Linked DNA regions of Homo sapiens: region 2 is linked to region 1. Evidence: promoter capture Hi-C in 16 types of primary human blood cells and fetal thymus (Javierre and others, 2016). All regions are on one chromosome and are shown on one strand. Each heading gives the region's core, a stretch centred on a gene start or on the middle of the fragment in contact. The rest is flanking DNA. Distances are from core to core; before and after follow the strand shown.

Region 1 (3,655 bases), core at 722-3,221:
AAGTAGTATGTTATATATCATTATGCTTAGCTTAATGAGTAATAAAGAGGGTAAAGTTCTCATTCCATAGCACGTAATTTTAAATTCTTAACCTTTCTACTTTATTGAGATAGTCTTTTCTAAAAGAAATACTCTAGGCATTATTTGTGATAGTTCTGTGATGAAAATAATTTGGGAATATATCAATATAGAAATGTTACGGATATAGGAAAGAATGTGCTTCAATCACTAGACCTATTATTAAGCAGCCTCCCTTGGGTGGCAATGCGGCTGTTAGGCAGGATTCATATCCAACACAGGGTCCATGCATGCACATCAGCCAATAGTAAGGGAGGGTTCCACAAGCCTGGCATGGGAACTAGGCAGGGAAGAGAAGGGGACTTAAGGCAGAAGCAGGAACCTGGACAAAGGAAAAGGCAGAGGCTCACGACAGAGGTGGGAACTTCAAGAAAGTGTCGGACATCATCTCAAAAACCCAGTGCAGAACTCTCAAGCTGCTGCTGGCTCACTCCCCTTCAGCAGCCAGCTCTGTCTCACCTTTCCAGAGTGTACTGTCTCTCTCTAAATAAGCTCTCTGCTATTTTTCTTCAACAAATTCTCTTTTTGGCTAATTCAGTCATTTGGTAGAATATTTTTCCAAGTAAGGCTAAAAATCTAGAATTCCTGAACTTCCCGTAACAGGGCTTGTTAGAGTTGCATTCTGGTAACTCTGATTCTCTTTCTCTTAGAGTATTCTCTAATTCCCCTAATTCAGAAACATGGCTGTCTTCTCAAGTGCTCTTGGAGATAACACCCCACCTGTCAGCTTTTAAATCGATATACATATTGAGTACCCTTAAAACACTGTAGAAGCAAATTTTTATAAATTTTTGTTTGTGATCATAAAAATATGTTTTTATGCAAAATAAAAGCAAACAACATCTCACTCTATGTATGGAGTTTTTCCTCCCTTGACATTTTTTCTCACTTTGGAAAAAAATTATGAAACCTGATGTCTTAGGTAATATACAGTGTTTCAGCTGAAAGCAACACACCCTGAATCCTTTGCTTAAACTTTAGGGGAAACGAAGTCAGGGAATAAGAAATCTCCAGTTCAGATCTCACAGCTTTGAAAGAGAAAGGTCAGTGAGAGTTTGGCCATGAATAATGGATAGCAGGAAAGGGCCAAGGAGGGAAGCGCTGAGTTGCTGATGGTTCAGGTCTTACACCTGAAAGTCAGCCTTACTTCTTTGCTTCTTTGCTGTTTCTGGAACAGGAAAGATCTAAACTAGAATCTCAGGATAGCCCTTGGCACAACATTTCTGTCAACCACATCCACACTGAGTACAAGAATCTCCTGGCCCACTCAAGTTTTCCATTCAAAGAACAGAAGTGAGCTAATGAGGGTCAGAATTGATTAGAACCATTTCCATACTTTTTTTTTTTGTACTAAGGTCTCTTTATAGACGTCTTTTATGTTTCTTATTTCCTAGTTTTAGCAAATGCTAATTATGTTGATTCATGTTGATGGGTAAGGAAACTGAAATGGACTACTTTTATATCATCAGAGCTGGATTAGAAGCCATGTTGTAACAAAGTCTGAAGGTTCTATTGGCATATGCTCAGATAAAGAAGGTAAGCAGTGTTGTTTTAATGGTAGCAATGACAAACTAATTAGATTTGGAAAGTTTGTGCTTCCTCCAGCAGTGAGGTAATTATGGGCATAAGCCTGGAAACAAAATGGGAGGACTCTTACTAAAAGAGGAGCATTCAACAGGGTTTTGGGTGAAATCAAGGTTCTTGGTTATACTCATAATATTTGCCCTTGATCTTGTAAGAGGTCCCTGAAAAGAGGCAATCATGGGACAGATGAGGCTCTCAGGAATGGAAGCAACCAACATGGGGCATGTCATTCTGCTTTGGGAATCAGAAAATAAATCTAATGTCTCTCTTTTCTCTTATTTCTTATTACACATAATACCTTAAAAGACATGGCTACTTCAAACCATTCTTCAGGGGCTGAGTTTATCCTGGCAGGCTTGACACAACGCCCAGAACTTCAACTGCCACTCTTCCTCCTGTTCCTTGGAATATATGTGGTCACAGTGGTGGGGAACCTGGGCATGATCTTCTTAATTGCTCTCAGTTCTCAACTTTACCCTCCAGTGTATTATTTTCTCAGTCATTTGTCTTTCATTGATCTCTGCTACTCCTCTGTCATTACCCCTAAGATGCTGGTGAACTTTGTTCCAGAGGAGAACATTATCTCCTTTCTGGAATGCATTACTCAACTTTATTTCTTCCTTATTTTTGTAATTGCAGAAGGCTACCTTCTGACAGCCATGGAATATGACCGTTATGTTGCTATCTGTCGCCCACTGCTTTACAATATTGTCATGTCCCACAGGGTCTGTTCCATAATGATGGCTGTGGTATACTCACTGGGTTTTCTGTGGGCCACAGTCCATACTACCCGCATGTCAGTGTTGTCATTCTGTAGGTCTCATACGGTCAGTCATTATTTTTGTGATATTCTCCCCTTATTGACTCTGTCTTGCTCCAGCACCCACATCAATGAGATTCTGCTGTTCATTATTGGAGGAGTTAATACCTTAGCAACTACACTGGCGGTCCTTATCTCTTATGCTTTCATTTTCTCTAGTATCCTTGGTATTCATTCCACTGAGGGGCAATCCAAAGCCTTTGGCACTTGTAGCTCCCATCTCTTGGCTGTGGGCATCTTTTTTGGGTCTATAACATTCATGTATTTCAAGCCCCCTTCCAGCACTACTATGGAAAAAGAGAAGGTGTCTTCTGTGTTCTACATCACAATAATCCCCATGCTGAATCCTCTAATCTATAGCCTGAGGAACAAGGATGTGAAAAATGCACTGAAGAAGATGACTAGGGGAAGGCAGTCATCCTGACAAAGAGGGTTCTCATTGGCAGCCAGAAAAAATAAACCATATAAAAAGTTGTTATAGGATCTTTGTAAGTTTCTGTCTCTCTCGGAGAGAGAAAAATTATCATCACTTAAAAATGTATATTTTATATTAGAGAATGATTAAGACATTTTTGGAGATTATGAAACAAAATTTTCTGATGGTCAATATAATCTTCGAAAATGTATTAGAGAAATGGGAGATGACAGAAGAGGAAGGGCAAATAAACATTAAAAACAATTTATTGAACATATTACTTTTGAAAGCCCAGGCTGGTCTTGAACTTCTGGCCTCAAGTAATCCTCCAAACTTGGCCTCCCAATGTGCTGGAATTAGAAGCCTGAGTCACGATCCTCAGCCTTGAAATAGTTGATTTAATGGATGACAGAGCATGATTCACAAAGACTTTTAAAGGCTGGAGTGATAGTCGCATTTAATGAGATTTTAAAAATGTACATGGGTAATATAAGATTCTATACTTCTATAAAAATGGAGAGAGTGGGAAAAACTTTATTTAACTCCAGAGAATTAAGGATTTTTGACAATATAAGTAAAAAGCATAACTACCTAGAAAGTTACTGTTACCTTGTCTGCATTAGCTACATTTTAGTATTTAGAATGAGGAACATTCTAGTTATCACTTGCACAACAGCAATTAGACTGTGTCCACTTGAAAGTAATTTACTTTGTTGATATTACTATTTAAGAGGCCACTGGCATTCTGAAATATATTC
Region 2 (3,655 bases), core at 419-2,918, 100 kb before region 1:
ATTATTTTAGGTAGCCTTAGTGAAACTTACAAATGCAGATGCTCCCATGTCTTTGAATTTTTCTTAAAATATTCATCTAGCAGATCATATGGAGAGCAGCTTTGTCATCTGAATAATGGCAGGATTAGACCCTTACATCCATCTCCCATTATACCTTAAGCCTGCATGCCTAGAGAGTAACTCTGTGTAGGGGTGTGTGTGTGTGTGTGTGTGTGTGTGTGTGTGTGTGTGTGTGCTTTCTAGCATATGTGTTGTGATATTTTAATCTCTTCATATATAGTAAAGGCCTGTCTGCGGCCCTTATTAGAGCTGCGAGTAGGTGGTGTTTGTGGTGGAGGTGGTGTGGTTTCTGTTCTGAGCAGCGCATGGTCCAAGAAGCCTTTTATCTGAGGTGCTCTCTGTAGATCTGATCTGACCTTTTCTGAGGGGTCCTACTCTCATAGCTCCCTGTGAAGATTTGGAGATGGTGGCTTAGGTTGGGGCTATTCACTCTTAAATTCAAGCTTAGGCTCTGAGAGTTAATGAGAAAGGAAAAAATGAGTCCCCAAACTCAGCACTGAATAACATGAAATCCCTGGAGTAGAGGGAAAGTTTGAGTGGAACCCCCACTCCCAAGATGCTAGGTAAGCACCGTTATCCAGGCTGTAAACAAAGACAGTGCAATTCCTTCCCTATAGAGACAGATCTTGGAGAAATTCCCAGGGGAAACTGTGTCTAATCAGGTCCCTGAGATCGTCAAGCAGCTTAAATTCCTCTGTGATATGACAGCTGGGGTTCTGGTCAAAATGAGAGTTCCTAGTTTTTTTTCCTGAAGTTGTCAAGACCACCTGGGAAAATCCACAAACAGAAACCATGGTCTATTCCTTGAGCACCTTGGAGCCTGGGGTCTGTAAAAGCTCTGATTCTCAGCACCAAGGGAGTCAAAAGAGGTAATACGCAAGGCTGTGTGCTTTCTGCACAAGCAGCACCATTTTCTCTTTCTGGCTAATGGAAAAAGAGATGGCGTAAGGCCCAGCACTGAGTGGGGCCCGGGAGAAGGAAGGTGAAGGTCCGAATCCTGTCTTTCCTGATGGTCTCTTTGAAACCCACAACCAAGGGCTCTGGGAAGTATGGATCCCGTCTCTGCTCTCAACACTGACCCTGAGGTGAGATGGAATGGAGGGTCTTCGAGGAGGCGGGTGGGATGTAAAGAGCCAGCAGGTAACACTCTTGGCTTTCTCTCCAGATGGAAATCCACTATCTAGTTGGGAGACGGAGGCAGAGAATGGGAGGGCATCCTGGTGACCTTGAGAGCTCTGGTCTCTCAGCTCTTGAGGCAGCGGCCCAGGTTGTACTCTTGGTTCTCAGGGTGTCTTTCTGAGAGTCCCTGGGCAGCCAATTCAGGTGTGTTGTCTCCCTCGTCATCTCTCAAGCAGAGACGGAATTCTTGCTGCCCATGGTAACAGATGCTAGCTTGAATTCATGATCGGCCCAGCAGAGCTGAGATCCTCTCACAGACACGTTGTTAATACCTCAGGGTGGGGAGGTGTGTAGATGAGGGAGGATGGAAGAGAGGGCATCTGCACACTGGCTGGTCCACTAGAGTCTTCTTCCCTTAGCCATGCTTGTGCCTGTCATGACTCTTTGTGTTTTGCCCTCTGCTTCCCCAGACAGCTCGCCAAGAGAGAATGACTCTGAGAAACAGCTCCTCAGTGACTGAGTTTATCCTTGTGGGATTATCAGAACAGCCAGAGCTCCAGCTCCCTCTTTTCCTTCTATTCTTAGGGATCTATGTGTTCACTGTGGTGGGCAACTTGGGCTTGATCACCTTAATTGGGATAAATCCTAGCCTTCACACCCCCATGTACTTTTTCCTCTTCAACTTGTCCTTTATAGATCTCTGTTATTCCTGTGTGTTTACCCCCAAAATGCTGAATGACTTTGTTTCAGAAAGTATCATCTCTTATGTGGGATGTATGACTCAGCTATTTTTCTTCTGTTTCTTTGTCAATTCTGAGTGCTATGTGTTGGTATCAATGGCCTATGATCGCTATGTGGCCATCTGCAACCCCCTGCTCTACATGGTCACCATGTCCCCAAGGGTCTGCTTTCTGCTGATGTTTGGTTCCTATGTGGTAGGGTTTGCTGGGGCCATGGCCCACACTGGAAGCATGCTGCGACTGACCTTCTGTGATTCCAACGTCATTGACCATTATCTGTGTGACGTTCTCCCCCTCTTGCAGCTCTCCTGCACCAGCACCCATGTCAGTGAGCTGGTATTTTTCATTGTTGTTGGAGTAATCACCATGCTATCCAGCATAAGCATCGTCATCTCTTACGCTTTGATACTCTCCAACATCCTCTGTATTCCTTCTGCAGAGGGCAGATCCAAAGCCTTTAGCACATGGGGCTCCCACATAATTGCTGTTGCTCTGTTTTTTGGGTCAGGGACATTCACCTACTTAACAACATCTTTTCCTGGCTCTATGAACCATGGCAGATTTGCCTCAGTCTTTTACACCAATGTGGTTCCCATGCTTAACCCTTCGATCTACAGTTTGAGGAATAAGGATGATAAACTTGCCCTGGGCAAAACCCTGAAGAGAGTGCTCTTCTAATGGGTCTCTTCATATCACTGGCAACCGATTCTCGGTAAGCATGATACTCAAGTGTCTTTCTATTTATAGGCGGAGGAATTTTAATATTTTTCCTCAAAGAGGGTCTCCTCTCCACTTTTAAAAATTGGAAATCTCTTTCCTATACTCTCCTTGAGGACTATATTATTTTGCAACAATTAAATTGGCTCACTGCCTGCAAGTTAGTGTCTATGAAATGCCTTTTGTTTACTGAACTCTGTATTAGGCCCAAGAGATGAGTAAGATGAGGCTCCATGCCTTCCATTCTTTTCTTGGTAGGCTAAATGGGTTTTTCTGAGCAAGAACGTTTCTGGCTGGAACAAGGGGCAGGTGGTGGTATAAAGGTTGAGGAGTGTTTTCTCTTTAGTTACATAAGCAGACTTATTAAAGATCAATGGTAGATACCTTGGTGCCAGTGCTAATATGATTATATATCCAGCTCTTCAGGAGGTTGCTTGGTCAGGAAGATCATAAACCCTCCTTTTCATATACATGTATGTACATAAAAGAAGCCCTCACACAAGAATTTTCTATGATCTGCTCTGTAAGGATAAATCAAATCCAAATCTTTTATTTCAAAGTTCTAAAGCTTCTGGGCCTTGGAATGGTAATCAGGGGTAAGTGATCCTGTGTAATTGGGCCAATTTCTTAGGCTCCGGAGACTCAGGCTGGAAGAAGAAACAAGGAAGAACTCCACGGATTTGCATGATCTGTAAAATGTGGCCTCTGCCTTGCTCTGGAGATACTAAGCACACTACTGGATTTTAGGAAGATTGCTTATTCTTTAAAGTGGATTTAGATTTTACAGTTCTGACAACGTGTGTGCATGTTTATATGTGTGTGTGTGTGTGTGTGTGTGTGTCTGTATGTGTATTACAGTTAATCAATATAGAATCGGAAAGAAAGAGGAGTCATATTACACGTCCCACTCTCAGGGAGTCTGGAAGGGATCTGGATTTTGAGTGCCAAAGACCACTCTGTATTACTCTGCTAAAGGTTCTGCTGTTCTACATTGAAGAGTTCAGTGCTCCAGCTCGTGG

What was found. Contacts are between HindIII fragments. The CHiCAGO score rates a contact against its expected background, and 5 or more counts as called.
Region 2: the fragment with the promoter of OR8B4 here is called in contact with the fragment with the promoter of OR8D2 in region 1 in 1 of 17 cell types (neutrophils); the score reaches 5.7 in neutrophils.

The regions. Positions count from the first base shown.
Region 1 is chr11:124,318,513-124,322,167 of GRCh38, reverse strand. It overlaps OR8D2 (olfactory receptor family 8 subfamily D member 2), which reads left to right and starts at 1,971. Exons shown (of 1, transcript NM_001002918.1): 1 at 1,971-2,906. The coding sequence starts at 1,971. The coding sequence ends at 2,906. All of the region lies in intron 2 of LOC112268069 (a long non-coding RNA gene), which reads right to left. The HindIII fragment of the contact is 6,670 bases long and covers 1-3,655 here.
Region 2 is chr11:124,422,884-124,426,538 of GRCh38, reverse strand. OR8B4 (olfactory receptor family 8 subfamily B member 4) reads left to right here and starts at 1,668. Exons shown (of 1, transcript NM_001005196.1): 1 at 1,668-2,597. The coding sequence starts at 1,668. The coding sequence ends at 2,597. The HindIII fragment of the contact is 2,701 bases long and covers 506-3,206 here.